4 separate regions of the Homo sapiens genome follow, and all the other regions are linked to region 3. Evidence: promoter capture Hi-C in human tissues and cell types (Jung and others, 2019). All regions are on one chromosome and are shown on one strand. Each heading gives the region's core, a stretch centred on a gene start or on the middle of the fragment in contact. The rest is flanking DNA. Distances are from core to core; before and after follow the strand shown.

Region 1 (4,000 bases), core at 1,360-3,859, 250 kb after region 3:
CACTCTTTTTTTTTTTAGGGGTCTTGCTATGTTGCCCAGGATGGTCTTTAACTCCTGGGCTCAAGTGATCCTCCTGCCTTCGGCCTTCCAAAGTGCTGAGGTTACAGGAATGAGCCACCGTGCCCAGCCCAGCCCTAAAGTAGGCCTTTTTTTCCCCCCGCGACGGAGTTTCACTCTTGTTGCCCAGGCTGGAGTGCAATGGCACGGTCTCAGCTCACCGCAACCTCCGTCTCTGGGTTCAAGTGATTCTCTTGCCTCAGCCTCCTGAGCAGCTGGGATTACAGGCATGGGCACCATGCCCGGCTAATTTTATATTTTTAGTAGAGAGGTGGGGTTTCGCCATGTGGGTCTCGAACTCCCAACCTCAGGTGATCCGCCCGCCTTGGCCTCCCAAAGTTCTGGGATTACAGGTGTGAGCCACCGCGCTCGGCCTTTTTTTTTTTTTTCCTTCTGAAGTGGAGTCTTGTTCTGTTGCCCAGGCTGGAGTGCAGTGACGCGATATCAGCTCATTGAACCCTCTGCCTCCCAGGTTCAAGCAATTCTCCTGCCTCAGCTTCCCAAGTAGATGGGATTACAGGCATGCACCGCCACGCCCAGCTAATTTTTGTATTTTTAGCAGAGATGGGGATTCACCATGTTGGCCAGGCTGGTCTTGGAACTCCTGACCTCAGGTGATCTGCCTGCCTCAGCCTCCCAAAGTGCTGAGATTACAGGTGTGAGCCACTGTGCCCCACCAGGTAGGCACTTTCATTAGCCCCATTTTACAGATGAGGGAACTGAGGGGAACTGAGGCACAGAGTGGTTAAACAAAGTGTCCAGGGTTACCCTGTCCAGTAAAGCAAAGCCCATTGACATTCTTCCTCTCCTGGATTTTTTTTTTTTTTTGAGATGGAGTCTTGCTCTGTCGCCCAGGTGGGAGTGCAATGGCCCAATCTTGGCTCACTGAAAGCTCTGCCTCCCAGGTTCAAGCAATTCTCCTGCCTCAGCTTCCTGAGTAGCTGGGATTACAGGCGTGCACCACCGTGCCCAGCTAATTTTTGTATTTTTTTTTTTTTTAAGTAGAGACGGGGTTTCACCATGTTGGTCAGGCTGGTCTCGAACTCCTGACCTCGTGATCTGCCCGCCTCGGCCTCCCAAAGTGCTGGGATTACAGGTGTGAGCCACCACGCCCGGCCGGATTTTTCTTCTTTTCTTTTCTTTTCGGTGGGGAGGAGGAGAGTGTGAGGACCTTTGTCCTGGTTGGTGAACTTTTGCTTAAACCCAGCTTCTATCTCTGGTTCTCAGATAAGGAACCAGCTCCTTCTGGGAGCTGAGAGCCGCACCCCAGGTCTCCTTGCCACTCCTGGGCTACCTGTTTTCTCTTTCCTCATATCCAGGGCTGATCACTCACCAGGTTCCCTCTTAGAATCATTTGCCACTTCACTTCATTTTCCTCTCTTCTCCCCTTTCTGCAGGATGAACACTTCCCCAGGGGTCAATCTGTGCACGCTCAGTCCAGGGGCTGGGTAAAGACAAAGTTTTTTGTTTGCTGTTGTTCACTTGTTTATTTAAATTTATTTATTTTGAGATGGAGTCTCGTTCTGTCACCCAGGCTGGAGTGCAAGGCGCGATCTCGGCTCACTGCAACCTCCGCCTCCCGGGTTCAAGCAATTCTCTGCCTCAGCCTCCTGAGGAGCTGGGATTACAGGTGTGCACCACCATGCCCGGCTAATTTTTGTATTTTTAGTAGAGATGTGGTTTCACCATCTTGGCCAGGCTGATCTTGAACTTCTGACTTCGTGATCCACCTGTCTCAGCCTCCCAAAGTGCTGGGATTACAGGCGTGAGCCACTGCGCCCCACCCTCACTTGTTTATTTACTTGTTTTGTAAACATTATTTACTGAGCATGATCAAACTGCTAGACTGGAGAGGCTGCTGCAATCTCCTCCCTCTGCCCCCGCCATTTCCTGGTACCCATCCTTGCTGGTGGTGTCTGCAATCAGCGGGGCCCTGGCTGAGTTCACGGGAAAGGAAATGGCTCATTGCTTCAGCCTTTAGACCGGGGGGCAGGGAGGGCCTGTCGGGAGGCCGCCTAGTCAGGGGCGTGTCAGAGGCCAGAGGGGCCGGGGCCCAGCAGCTGGGGCTTGGTAAGCTCTGGAGCCTGGGCTCCAGGCCAGCTCGCTGCCAACCTCCACCTGAGACCACCCCACCCCCAACCCCCTTCCTTCTCTCCCCTGCTGCCGAGGCGCGCCCTTCCGGAGTGAAACTTTGGTTTCTCACGACCCGGAAGGCTTGAAGCAAACCTGCAATTACTCACTGCCTGGTCTGTGCGGGCTGCAGCTCTCAGACTCAGGATGAGGTGGCGGTAGGTGGGGTGGGGCTCTTGGGACCCTTTTACCCCTTCGTGCTGCTGGCTGGGGGAGGCCACTAAAGTCTGCGCGCTGCCTTCCACGCGTTCTCCAGACACTTTCCAAATCCCTGCGGACACTACCTTATAAACAGATACTGGAATTTTCAAAGTACTGTCATGCTGTTTGGGACCAGAAATTCCCTCCCATGAGGGTTGGATATGAAGCCAGTTTGGAGGGGGAAGCTGAGGGTGCATGCCCCTGGATCTACCAAAGCCTTCTCTTCAGTCTGGGAGGTTTTTTTTCTTTTTCTTTTTCTTTTTTGAGACAGAGTCTCACTCTGTCGCCCAGGCTGGAGTGCAGTGGTGTGATCTCAGCTCACTACAACCTCCACCTCCCAGGTTCGAATGATTCTCCTGCCTCAGCCTCCCGAGTAGCTGGACGACAGGCGTGCGCCACCACACCTGGCTACTTTTTGTATTTTTAGTAGAGACAGGGTTTCACCATGGGTTTCAGAGGGTGCAGTGGCTCACGCCTGTAATCTCAACACTTTGGGAGGTCGAGGCAGGTGGATCACTTGAGGTCAGGAGTTCGAGACCAGCCTGGACAACATGGTGAAACCCTGACTCTACTAGAAATACAAAAATTAGCTGGTGGTGGTGGCATGCACCTGTAGCCCCAGCTACTCAGGAGGCTGACTCAGGATAATCAGGAACCCGGGAGGAGGAGGTTTCATTGCTCCAGACTTTGAGACTCCATCTGAAAAAAAAAAAAAAATTAAGCCAGGCAAAGTGGCTGATGCCTGTAATTCCAAAGCTTTGAGTGGCTGAGGTGGGATGATCACTTGAGGCTAGGAGTTCGAGACCAACCTATGCAACATGGCAAGACCACCACACCCCCATCTCTGCAAAAAATTAGCCAGGTGTGGTGGCGCACACCTGTAGTCCCAGCTACTCTAGAGGCTGAGGCGGGAGGGTGGCTTGAGCCCAGGAGTTTGAGGCTGCAGTGAGCTATGATCATGTCACTGCACTCCAGCCTGGGTAACAAAGCAAGGCCCAGTCTCAAGAAAATCAGTTATTTTTGCATATGTATGGCGTACATAAGAACATTTGTTACATGTCTATAATGTAACCTCTCTCTGCTTTGCTTTGCAGCTCTGGCAGGGGCAGGGCAGCAGTGCTATGATGAGGCCACTTGTAATTGGGGGTGTTCATGGGAGGGCCTTTGTTCTCTGAGCACTGAGTGGGCACTGCTGTATCTCCATATGCCTGGGATCCTCATTGGTTCCCCTCCTTTCTCCCAGGCTTGTGCCTCTTTCTTTTACTTGACTTTTTTTTTTTTTCCACCCAGGCTGCCGTATAGTGGTGCCATCTCAGTTCACTGCAACCTCCACCTCCCAGGTTCAAGCAATTCTCCTGCCTCAGCCTCCCCAGTACCTGGGACTACAGGCATGTGCCACCATGCCTGGCCGATTTTTGTATTTTTAGTAGAGACAGGGTTTCACCATGTTGGCCAGGCTGATCTCAAACTCCTGGCCTCAAGTTATCCATTAGCCTCAGCCTCTGAAAATGCTGGGATTACAGGCGTGAGCCCGGCCTTTCTTCTTTTTCTTTTTTCTTTTGTTTGTTTTTTTAGAGACAGGGTCTCACTCTGTCACCCAGGTTGCAATGTA
Region 2 (4,108 bases), core at 796-3,295, 150 kb after region 3:
TTTTGTCTTTTGGTTGCTCTCTGGCTCTGGGGCTTCCTGCCTTCTCGCATCCCTCCTCCAAACTCCTGCTTGTCCCAGGCGCATCCCTTGAGTGGCCTGCAGAGCCTCCGCCTCCTGTTTCTCATACCAGGTTGGCATTAGAGTCTGGAGGACTCTGTCCCTTTATGAATAATTAGACCAAGGGCAAGTGTATTTGGGGGTAGGAGGAGGGTGATGCCCAGCCCTGGGAGGTTGGGACACTATTAATAGCCCTAAGAGCAGCTGGGGGTGAGGGTGATTGTCTGGCCAGCCTGTCCTGTCCTGGGCAGCTCAAAGGGCCAGAAAGGGCAGTGCTGGAAATAGAGAAAGCGGGTGGGGGTGGAAGAGCAGCTCTGCAGGCCCCTTGCTGGGATGGGACCCCCCCCCTCCCCAGGGCCCCTCTCTTTTCTTGACATGTGGGGTATGGAGGGCATTCTCCACTGTCAGTTTTTCTTCGTCAAGTTGGGGAGGGGATAGAAGCTTCAGGGGCTGGGGGCCGCTTGCCTGGACCCCACCATCACATGACTCTTGGCCCCAGGCCCTCTCAGAAATGCTGGCTCCAGCTGCCGGCTGAATCGTGGCACCAGCCAGCACTGCCAGGAGAGGCGCCTGGCCTGGACGCCCATGGGCCTGTGCCTGTGCTCCTGGTTTTCTCAGCTCTCTGTATTCCAAGGCTGGGCTGGGCTGGGCAGGCCTTGGGCCTAGCACTCCCAGAGTCTAGGGGGACAAGCTCTATCCTCCCTTTTCCCTGTTGGCCCTCTCTCCCCCACCCCTGTTTCTAGTATGGTGACTGTCTTGAGACCGTTGGATGGCTATTGCACACCGATGTGGGGAGGGATATGCCTGTACAGGTGTCTGCCCAGGCTCTGCCATTATATTTGCAGAGAAACCTCTCTGTTGCTCTTTGTAGATGGTAGTGGGCCAGGCCCCAAGGGAGCCCCTCTGTTCACTGGCAGTGGTCCCTGGGTCAAGACACCAAAAACTGCAATCTAGGACACACTCACCATGTACTCAAGAGCGTGAGCTCCTGGGGAGGGGAGCTGAGGGTCAGCCACAGCTTCCCCCACCAGGGTGGGAGGTGGCATTTGAACAGAGTTGAGAAGGAGGAATAAGCATTCAGCAAATGGAGATGAAGGGAAATAGTAATCCAGGTGGAAGGACAGGCGACATTTATGTAGCCCCAACTATGAGCCAGGCCCTGAGCTAAGCACCTTATTATACATGTTTTCTCATTTATTCCTTACCCAGGAATGCTAATGGTAGGTGTTATCTCCCTTTTACAGATGAGGAAACAGTTCATAACTTGACCAAAGTCACAGGCTGGTAGGTTCTGGAGCACGGATGTGAATTGGGGGAGCCTTGGTATGCCGTTGCTGGCCACCCACCTCCTTCCTCCTCCTACCCTCCATTTCAGCATGCCCCCTTCGGCCCCTCTGTGCTGGGGCAAGGCCAGCTCACCCAGGATAGGGTATCCACAGTGGTAGAGCACTGTGTTGTACCCCCTCAGTGGACACAGGCTCCAGACCAAGGGCACCTCCCTGGGTAGGCCAAGGGCAGGCTCAGAGGACAGGGGAAGCAGACCCAGGCCAATGGCTCCTGCCCAAGATGTTTTTCTTTGCCTTCTTCCTTGCCTGATCTTTGCCTGTCATCTTCAATCTCTTCTGCTCTGATGGGAATTCCTACCCCAGGTATCTCTGAAACACCCCAGACAGTGCTGCTGCCATGCCCTGGGTCCACTTGTTCCCTCCATAGTCAGGTATCTGAGGTGCTAGGTTTGGTGCTGGGTCACCTTGCCATGGGCAGACACAGGAGGAGCCTGCAGGCCCACTCGCATGTCCCATTGCTGCTGTGGCTGGGGGTCTCATTTATTAACTGTTGGGCTGATCCTGGAGTGGCCATTGGCAGGTGGGCCTTTGTCCACCTGCTGGGTGCTCTGTTGTGCACCAGGGGCATATCCCTTCTCTCTCTCCTTTGCTGGCCACTGCCTGTCATCCCTTGGGGAAGAGCAACTGAGCATTCAGTTCCCCAGTGCCTCCTGGCTTCTTCTGCCGCTCCATGCCTGGGCCCATCTAAAGGAGTTCTCCCTGGGCTGGGGACGGCTGCTAATGAACGGGAGCCAAGCAGAGAACGCTGAGTAGCTCACACCAGAAGAACTCCCTGGAGGGCTCCGGGGCCACTTGCTGGGGATGGAAGGGAGGTGGGAGTTCTATTGTTTTCCTGGAGGAAAATTTTAAGCTTAGGAACACCTTTCTCATTATATGAGGGAGGCAGTGATGGGCTGTGTGGCTGGAAGGCTTCTGGCTATGAGTCTATCTCCACATGGGGAGTGGAGGCAACCAAGGACTGTAGGAGACAGGCCTTCTTCACCTCGACACCGTGTGGGGCCTGAGGCTTTCAGATGAAGTGTGAGACTGCTCTGCTGGTCTCCTGGGTACAAGATGAGCTGATGGACTTGCTTTCTCCTCGCTTCCCGAAGCCTTACTGCCGAGCTGTGAGTCCTGTAGTAGCCAGGCCTGGCACTTGCTCCAGGGGCACCCGTAGAGGCCGGGATGTGTTGGAATGGAGAAAGTAGTTCTTCCTGGGGTCAGGGGATGGAGAGGGGAATGTCCCATCCAGATGCTGGCCCTTCATCTGCCAGGTTCCTGTGCCTTCCCTACCCCCCCGCCCCCAACAATGGCTTTTCTTGAGCCTAGGCCCTAGGGGCAGCCAGAGCAGGCCTAGACCACATGTGGGTGTCACTCGGTTTCTTCCTCTTTCCTGTCACTTATCCCCTCTGCCATGTCCTCTTCCCCCATCTCCAGCAGGTCAGTCAAGTCAAAGGCAGAAGCCCCTTTGGATCTGTGAGCAGGGAGGGAATGAGGAAAGGGGAGAGGACGATAATGGGGTGACATGTTCCCCTGTCCTTATCCCTGCCCCCACCCACAGCTTGCGGGCTCTGCTTCTTGTTCAGGCTCCGGCTTTAAACCATGTGAGACTCTAGGGATGACAGAGGAGGGAAAAACCTGCCACCTCAGGATGACTCCAGGATGTGTGTGTGCATGTGTGTGTGTGTTTGTGCACATGTGTGTGTGCACATGCATGGTGGCTGGTGGAGCAGGGTGAGGAATGGAGAGAAGGAGAGGAAGATCCTAGAAGCCCCGTGGGCCCAGACCCTGGCCAAGCCTCATCCCCCGGCCCTCTGGCTGCCCTGCATTCTCAAGGACTTCCTTGGTCCCCTGAGTCTCCTGTCTGCTGAGACGGGGAGAACCCCTCTGTGACCCGTCCCCTTAGCCCCCCATCTATCCACCGTTCCCCTCCTCAGGGTGTCTCAGATTCTCAGACTTCAGTTTCAGGAGGCACAATAGTTACATTCTCCAGCTCTGATTGCTACAGGCAGGGCCTCTGGCTCCCCTTGAGATTGGGTTTCCTGTGCCCTGGACGCTCCAGAATCTCAGAGGAAGCGGGAGAGAAGTAGGAGGCGGGTGCAGTGCTGGGAGGGCCAGTGATTGGCCCCAGAATCGCATCAGCCCTTCAGAGGATGGGGTGTTGCAGCTGCCCAGAGGCACCCCCAGAACAGAATGTACCCCCACTTGCTTCTGGAATGTCAGGCCTGGGAGGGCCAGGGGATGGGCAGGCACACCCCAAGGGCTGTTCTCCCCGTTTCCAAAGGCCAGCGGTTCCTGCAGAGTTGAAGGGGATTCCTCTCTGGTGGCTCCAGATGTACCATCTCACTCCACCCTTTCTGGACGGCAAGAAGTGGTTAGTGGCACCTCCGTGTGTGTGCGCGCGTGTGTGTGTGTGTGTGTGCGTGTGTGTGTGTGTGTGTGTGTATGTGTGTGTCTGAGTCTGAGCATATGAGTGTATGCATCCAAGTGTATGCACATACCTGGGTATGCATATGTGGGTTCAGCTAAGGCCAAATCTGTGCACACCCCTCAGCCTCCATAAAACTTGTTAGGCCAAAGTCCGTGGGGGCAATTGGCCAGCAAATTATACATGGCCCCTTTCACAGTACAAGTTTGTTTCGAGCAGGAGCTGAGGGCAGTGTTGGCTGTAGCCAGCAGGAATTCCTCCCTCACCCTAGTGGGAGCCATAACTACCTCCCCATCTG
Region 3 (4,029 bases), core at 1,103-3,602:
AGTTTCACCATGTGGGCCAGGCTGGTCTCGAAATCCTGACCTCAAGTTATCTGCCAGCGCCAGCCTCCCAAAGTGCTGGGATTACAGGCGTGAGCCACTGCGCCCAGCCTCTACTATATATATACTTTTTTTTTTTTTTTTTGAGACAGAGTCTTGCTCTGTCACCAAGGCTGGAATGCAATGGCACAATCTTGGCTTACTGCAATCTCTGCCTCCCAGGTTAAAGCAATTCTCCTGCCTCAGCCTTCTGAGTAGCTGGGATTACAAGTGTCTGTCACCATGCCTGGCTAATTTTTGTAGACACAGGGTTTCACCATATTGGCCAGGCTAGTCTCAAACTCCTGACCTCATGATCTGCCTGCCTTGGCCTCCCAAAGTGCTGGGATTACAGGCGTAAGCCACCGTGCCCGGCCTACTAAATTTTTCTTTTTTCTTTTTTTTGAGACGGAGTCTCACTCTGTCACCAGGCTGGCATGCAGTGGCATGATCTCGGCTCACTACAACCTCTGCCTCTGGGGTTCAAGCGATTCTCCTGCCTTAGCCTCCCGAGTAGCTGGGACTACAGGCGTGCACCACAACACCCAGCTAACTTCTGTATTTTTAGTAGAGACGGGGTTTCATCATGTTAGCCAGGATGGTCTCCATCTCTTGACCTTTTGATCCACCCCCCTCGGCCTCCCAAAGTGCTAGGATTACAGGCATAAGCCACCATTCCTGGCTTTTTTTTTTTTTTTTTGAGACAGCGTTTCGGTCTTTTTGCCCAGGCTGGAGTGCAATGGCGCCATCTCAGCTCACTGCAACCTCCACCTCCTGGGTTCAAGCGATTCTCCTGCCTCAGCCTCCTGAGTAGCTGGGATTACAGGCATGTGCCACTATGCCCAGCTAATTTTGTATTTTTAGTAGAGACGGGGTTTCTCCATGTTTGTCAGGCTGGTCTCAAACTCCCGACCTTAGGTGATCCACCCGCCTTGGCCTCCCAAAGTGTTGGGATTACAGGTGTGAACCACTGCACCTGGCCAATATTTTTTAATAAATTGGCCCGACATTCTGGCCCGCCTCTAGTCCCAGCCATTTCGGAGGCTGAGGTGGGAGGATCACTTGAGTCTGGGAGGTGGAGGTTGCAGTGAGCCGTGATCATGCCACTGCGTGGTGACAAAGCAAGACGCTGTGTTAGGAGGGAAAAAAAAAGCAGCAGACACTGGCATAGCCTTGTGGAAGAAAAGGGTGAATGAGAGGGACCCAGGGGCCTGTGTAGACCCATAGGGCTGGGATCTTCCTCACCTAGCTGGCCCTCCACCAGCTTCCTCCTCGCAGTTCTCTTCCCACCGCGGATGCTCCTTGCTCTCCCCCAAGGGCTGCGGTTCCTGGTCTTTGCATTTCACATGGGGCACGTCCACCTGCAAGCACAGTCAGGACGGAGGCCAAGGAGGGAGGATGAGGAGTGAACAGATCGCCCTCCTGCCGACCCTTCAACCCTGGTCACCTCGATGTGCTGCTGCGGGACGGTGGGGACCCGCAGGAAAGACGGGCAGGGCTGGGGCAGGTGCCATGAGGGCAGGGGCATGGGGTGAAAGGACACTCTGTCCCTAGGGGACACCAGGACACCAGACCTAGAGGGGCCGGGTGAGGGCAGGGCTGTGGGAATGTAACTGGAGGACCTGGGCTCCTAACTGGTATGTGTGTTGGCTGGAGTCCTTCGAGAAAGGAGAAGAGGTAGGAGAAAAGAGATGAGGCCGGGCGCGGTGGCTCACGCCTGTAATCCCAGCACTTTGGGAGGCGGAGGCGGGCGGATCACGAGGTCAGGAGTGCGAGAACAGCCTGAGCAATATGGTGAAACCCCGTCTCTACTAAAAATACAAAAATTAGCTGACGTGGTGGTGCGTGCCTGTAATCCCAGCTACTCGGGAGGCTGAGGAAGGAGAATCACTTGAACCCGGGAGGCAGAGGTTGCAGTGAGCCGAGATCACGCCACTGCACTCCAGACTGGGCGACAGAGTGATACTTCGTCTCAAAAAAAAAAAAAAAAAGAAATGAAAGAAACGGGTGCGGTGCGTGGGTGTTTGTGCCTTTCTCTACTCCGTTCCGGCCACGCGCCATGTGTGGAAATCAGACCCGTCAGTGCGTCAGTCAGGGCCGGGTTCAGTCAGTCAGGAAATTTGAGGCCAGGCCTGATGAGAGGGAGCCCCAATGGCAAAGGACAAGCGGCCGGGCTCGGGTCCGCTGGAGATGGCTGGGATCGCAGCCGTTCCCTGCCTATCTGTCCGCCCGCCCCACGCGCGAGAAGGAAACAAGCGCCGCGTACTCCCTGTCGCTCCATTCCGTATTTTCCCGCCTTCAAGCTCGCACCCTCTGCGCATGCGCCGACCCCGCCCCTGGCCAGCTGCGCTCCCGCGGACGAGTGTGTTGTGACGCGTGCTCCCGGCCCCGCCCTCTTTGAGAACTTGCGCGGCCAACTGGGCGGGGCCGACCGTTAAGCAGCAGTTTCGCGGTCCGCGGGCTGCGCGCGCAGTCGGCGCCCCTTGGGAGCAGGACGGCGCGCTCTGGGTGCGCTTGTGTGCCCCTGTGAGGCTCCTGGGTTCCACGGGGCGCCCAGGTTATACGGATCTCAGAGTCCTGTATTTATTCGGTGCTTCTAACTTCATCCACTCTGCCTTGGAAAATATACTCCATAACAATTTTTTTTTTTTTTTGAGACAAGATCTTGGTCTGTCGCCCAGGCTGGAGTGCAGTGGTGCGATCACAGCTCACTGTAGCCTCGACCTCCCAGGTTCAAGCGATCCTCCTGCCTCGGCCTCCTGAGTAGCAGTGTCATTCACCAGGCCCTTCTAATTTAAAAATATTTTTCTGGCCGGGCGCGGTGGCTCACGCCTGTAATCCCAGCACTTTGGGAGGCCGAGGCGGGTGGATCACCTGAGGTCATGAGTTCGAGACCAGCCTAGCCAACATGGTGAAACTGTCTCTACTAAAAATACAAAAAATAGCCGGGCGTGGTGGCGGGCGCCTATAGTCCCAGCTACTCGGGAGGCTGGGGCAGGAGAATTGCTTAAACCCAGGACGCAGAGGTTGCAGTGAGCTGAGATCATGCCACTGCACTCCAGCCGGGGTGACAGAGTAAAGCTCCGTCTCAAAAAAAAAAAAAAGATTGTATGTATATATACACACACACACACACACACACACACACATAATTATATTTTTTTTTCCTGTAGAAATGAGATCTCACTGTGCTGAGCCCAGGCTGATCCCCAACTCCTGGGCTCAAGCCGTCCTCCCGTCTTGGTCTCCCAAAGTGCTGTCTCAAAAAAAGAAGAAATTATCTGATCTACCCTATTGACTGTAGGTCATAAGACCCCCGTTTCAAAGAAGTTTCTGCCCCACACAAGGCCTATCTATCTAGATTCTTCTTGGCCTCTCTGAGCATGCATTCCTGAGACTCCAAGAAGAATCTAGACAGATAGGCCTTGCTGGGTTTCCCCACTCAGCCTATTAGTATTAGACGACCCCCCCGGCTTTTTTTTTTTTTTTTTTTTTTTGTCTTGCTCTGTTGTCCAGGCAACACTGGAGTGCAGTGGCAAGATCTCAACTCGCTGCAACCTTGGCCTCCCAGGTTCAAGCGATTCTCAGCCAACCAAGTAGCTGGGATTACAGATGCACCATGCCCAGCTAATTTTTGTATTTTTAGTAGAGATGGGGTTTTTCCATGTTGCTCAGGCTGGTCTCAAACTCCTGGCCTCAAGTGATCCACCCGCCTCAGCCTCCCAAAGTGTCAGGATTACAAGTATGAACCACGACAAACCCTTTTTGTCCAATCAAATTTCTACCTGGGTGTTCAAACTTTGCTGAACCTAAGCATAAGACACTTTTCATTAATCAGGCATGGTGGCGGGCACCTGTAATCCCAGCTGCTTGGGAAGCTGAGGCTGCTGTGAGCCAAGATCGCCCCTACACTCCAGCCCAGGGAACAGAGCCAGACTCCGTCTCAAAACAAAACAAAACAAAAACACAGTTTCCCCTGTATCTCTGGATCTT
Region 4 (3,679 bases), core at 192-2,691, 180 kb after region 3:
GCAGCGCACTGTCCCTGAGCTCTTTGTGACCCAGGAGGGGCGCTGTTGCCCAGCCTCTGAGCAAATATTCCTTCTTCCAGAATTCCCTCACCTCTGCAGCCTGGAGAGGGAACAAGACAGGGAGCCCCTAACTGATCCTGGGATCCCCAGAAACCCCAAGATTAACCCTGTTATCCTCAGATCTAAAGATCCAACCCAGAGACTCCTCATTAACTCATTGATGCCATGTGAGCTTGGAATCCCTCCAAGATGGACTCTGACCCTTCACGGAAGGCCCCCAGCCCCCACCCAGGCTGACCCTCTGCACCTCAAGAATGACCCTGCGGTTCTTCCCATTGCTGTCCCTGAAAGTGCTCCATAATTGCTTGAGTGACCCCCACTCCCACTGCAAACATCCCCCATAGCAACCCTGTGACCCCACTACTGACACTATGACCTCAAATGCTGACCCTAGACCCCCAAACACTGACCCCACTGCCCAGTCCAGTCCAGTCATGCCCCAACCCTCCCTCTGGCTTGGAAGCCCCCATCCTCATCAGCATCCACGCTTTTTAAAATTTGTTTATTTTTTTAGAGACAGGGTCTCCCTCTGTTGTCCAGGCTGGAGTGCAGTGGTGCAATCATAGTGCACTGCAGCCTCAAATTCCTGGGCTCGAGCCATCCTCCTGTCTCAGCCTCCTGAGTAGCTGAGAGTACAGGCATGTGCCACCATGCCCGGCTAATTTAAAAAAAAAAATTTTTTTTGTAGAGGCAGGTTCTCACTCTGTTGTCCAGGGTGGTCTGGAACTCCTGGGCTCAAGTGATCCTCCTGCCTCAGCCTCCCAAAGTGCTGGGATTACAGGCATGCACCACAATGCCCCGCGATCATCCACAGTTTTGCATACTGTTTTGACATCCCTGTTTGCTCTTGGTTCCAGAGTCCAGGATGTCCCAGCAAGGTGTGAGACTGTTGGCCCCTCTGCCCTGTCTTCCTCAGCTAGGCCCTGGGGAAGCAGGCCTGGCCCCTCACTAGTGGGTCCCTGCTGGTGAATGAATGAATGAAGGAATGAACAAAGGAATGCAGGCTGGGTCCCAGGCCCGGGATCCTCCACCTTTAGGCCCGCTCCCCTCTTACCCCAGCACTGTTCTTGCAGCCTGGTGAGTGCCCTGGCTCTGTCCCGTCAGGGCTGGCAGTCTGGGCCAGGGTGTGGTTTCCAGCGTCAGGCCAGGCTCTGCTGTCTCGCGAGGGTCCGGCCTCAATGCTCCAGGCCCCGGCGTTGGGCCGCGCCTCCTCGTGGGCCTCGGAAGGCCAGGATAGCCGAGGTCTCCGCGTAGGTCCCCCCCAGGGAAAGTGAGCGGCTCCCGGGCCGGCCCGCCTTCTCCCCGCCCCCGGCGGCCCGGTTTCCTCCCTCTCACCCCTGGCGGCGCAGCGGCCGGAGGATGCTGGCCCAGTGCAGATAAGGGCCAGGCTGCCTGGCCGCGCCTGATAAGGAGCCTGGCTGACCCCGGAGGAAACCAGCGGGCGGGGACCTAGCAGCGCGGGCCTCCCGGCCCCGCCCCCAGCCGGCGCTGGCAGGACTCGGTCCGCCACCCCTCAGGGCTTCGCCTTCCGCTCCCCCAGCCACTGTAGGGACCCCGGGCCTCTGGGGACCCGGGCCCCAGGGCAGCCGGGGAGGGAGGTGCCTGGATGCACGCAGGGGGTAAACTGAGGCAGGGAAGCTGCCTCCTCTTATGTCCGAGTCTGCCCTTTGGCTTTGCACACTCCCTGCCCGAATGTCTGTGCTGATGGGGGTGAGGGAGAGCCCTTTCCGGCCCGTTGGGGCCGCGTGACCCTGGGCCCCCACCTCCTCTCCTCACCCAGCCTGGTTCCTCTTTTTACAGAGGCCCTTCCCTCCTCTCCACCACCCCTACCCGGGAGTGGGGCACCCAAAGGGGAACAGTTCTAACAGTCTGGCCTTGGGTGTCCAGCCTGGGCAGGTGTCCCAAGCCCTCAGCACAGTATCCACACATTTCCAAGCCCAGGAGGGTGAGAGGAAGAGCCATGGCTGTCAGGGGTGGGGTGGGGAAGTTGGATTTCCTAGGGTGCTGGGGCTGGTGTGACCTTCCAGTAGATGCCCAACAGGTCCCCACAACTATAGGCCTCTTGGCTACAGGATCACATAACTCCAACTTGGTGGTCCATGGCCCTCACCCCACAGCACCCGGCCCCTTCATGGGGGGCAGTTATCCTGGCTTGGTGGTAAACCTCAAGACCCTACTGGAGCCTCCCACAGGGAGAGGCTCTGGGCACAGCCAGGCAGCAGCAGCTACCAGACTGCCACCCACTTGTGATACTCATGCTTTGGCCCGTCTGTGTATCTGGGCAACTGCAAGAGCCCCCAGGCAGGCAGGCACCCAGCAGCAGGACTACCAACCCCCCCCCCCCCCCGCCCAGGAATGGGGTGGAGCCCAGGACCCCACGATCAACACCTCCATTGCTTTCCTCCAAAGAAGCAGGAACTAAAGTTTTATGCAGTAAAGGCCGGGCTTGGTGGCTCATGCCTGTCATCCCAGCACTTTGGGAGGCTGAGGCTGGCGGATTGCTTGGGCTCATGAGTTTGAGACCAGCCTGGGAAACATGGCAAAACCCCATCTCTACAAAAAATACAAAAATTAGCTGGTTGTGGTGGTGCGTGCCTGTAGTCCCTGCTACTCTGGAGGCTGAGGTGGGAGGATGGCGTGAGCCTGGGAGGTGGAGGCTGCAGTGAGCCAATATTGCGCCACTGCACTCCAGCCTGGGCCACACACCTAGACCTTGCCTCAAAAAAAAAAAAAAAAAAAAAAAAATTAAGCGCTAACTCTGATATCGCTACAAGGAGGGTCCTAAGATTAGCCTCATTACAGATGGGGATGAAGGGAGCAGGAGCCAGAGAGGGGATCCTGCCCCAGGACTCTTCGTTAACGTTACTAAACCCCACTCTGGAGGGCAGGGAGGGGTACAGCTCCCCCTCACTGGGTGTCTGGGCAGCAGCCTGCGAGGTCCCTCTTTGTGTGCACGCCCCCCTCGCCCCGGGCCTCAGGGCAGGAAGCACCTGGTCTGGAGCGGATGCACAGGGCGCCTGGTTCCGGTCCAGCTTCCGCCACTGTGGCCCCTGGAGAGCTGGGCCAAAGAAACCAGGCGGCGAGGAGGCAGCGGCGCGAAGACACGTGGGGGCTACCGGGCAGGAGCGCCCCACTATGCGCAAGCCCGTGGCCTGGAGAGCGCTGAAGGTGGGAGGGGGAAGAGGGGCAGAACCCCCGCGGGAGCGAGCGCACAGCTGCCGCCCCGTGGCCGCTTCGGGAATCGCTGGCTCCGGCTCTGGGGTGGCTCAGTGACCCTCGCTGCAGAGGGGCCGACCACTGTGCAGATGGTCAGCTCCTACCTCCCATACAGACTCAACACTCCAGCCAGGCAGGGGCGAACGATCCCCAGAGGAACAGATCCCAGTCATGCAGCTGTATGGACCAATACACAAACCACAGGCAATCGGGAGAAGGTGACGTGACATCTCTTTATTGGTTCAGTCTATGCCTGGCCCAGCGGCAGCCCCAGGTCCAGGGGGGGTCTGGTTGGAGGTCTCTGGACAGTCAGGGGCAGCATCAGCAGAAACCCTGGGTGTCGGGGGGCTGTGGGAGTAGCAGCACTGGTCCCCGCGTTGACAGGTGCCCTGGTGGGAAGATG

The links. Contacts are between HindIII fragments. The study calls those that stand out against the background at their distance.
Region 1: a contact is called between a fragment that was not itself captured here and the fragment with the promoter of SYCE2 in region 3, in 1 of the 25 tissues and cell types used here (pancreas).
Region 2: a contact is called between a fragment that was not itself captured here and the fragment with the promoter of SYCE2 in region 3, in 2 of the 25 tissues and cell types used here (IMR-90 fibroblasts and lymphoblastoid cells).
Region 4: the fragment with the promoter of LYL1 here is called in contact with the fragment with the promoter of SYCE2 in region 3 in 1 of the 25 tissues and cell types used here (spleen).

Annotation. Positions count from the first base shown.
Region 1 is chr19:13,165,586-13,169,585 of GRCh38, forward strand. No RefSeq gene overlaps it. Among named protein-coding and RNA genes, the nearest start is that of IER2, 17 kb to the left of the region's middle. RefSeq lists enhancers at 1-265, 1,717-2,344. The HindIII fragment of the contact is 8,994 bases long and covers 1-4,000 here.
Region 2 is chr19:13,063,679-13,067,786 of GRCh38, forward strand. The region is part of intron 2 of NFIX (nuclear factor I X); the gene reads left to right. Among named protein-coding and RNA genes, the nearest start is that of LYL1, 37 kb to the right of the region's middle. The HindIII fragment of the contact is 5,516 bases long and covers 1-4,108 here.
Region 3 is chr19:12,916,941-12,920,969 of GRCh38, forward strand. It overlaps SYCE2 (synaptonemal complex central element protein 2), which reads right to left and starts at 2,353. Exons shown (of 6, transcript NM_001105578.2): 1 at 2,303-2,353; 2 at 1,282-1,397. The coding sequence starts at 2,317. It overlaps MIR5695 (microRNA 5695), which reads left to right and starts at 3,380; the gene lies at 3,380-3,464. RefSeq lists an enhancer at 2,033-2,172. The HindIII fragment of the contact is 14,742 bases long and covers 1-4,029 here.
Region 4 is chr19:13,101,417-13,105,095 of GRCh38, forward strand. LYL1 (LYL1 basic helix-loop-helix family member) reads right to left here and starts at 1,442. Exons shown (of 4, transcript NM_005583.5): 1 at 1,115-1,442. It overlaps TRMT1 (tRNA methyltransferase 1), which reads right to left. Exons shown (of 17, transcript NM_001136035.4): 17 at 3,491-3,665. The coding sequence ends at 3,519. It overlaps LOC105372282 (a long non-coding RNA gene), which reads left to right and starts at 3,000. Exons shown (of 2, transcript XR_001753871.2): 1 at 3,000-3,228; 2 at 3,392-3,490. RefSeq lists cis regulatory regions at 1,195-2,115, 2,915-3,495, a silencer at 1,215-1,824 and enhancers at 2,905-2,984, 2,919-3,213, 3,125-3,184. The HindIII fragment of the contact is 28,419 bases long and covers 1-3,679 here.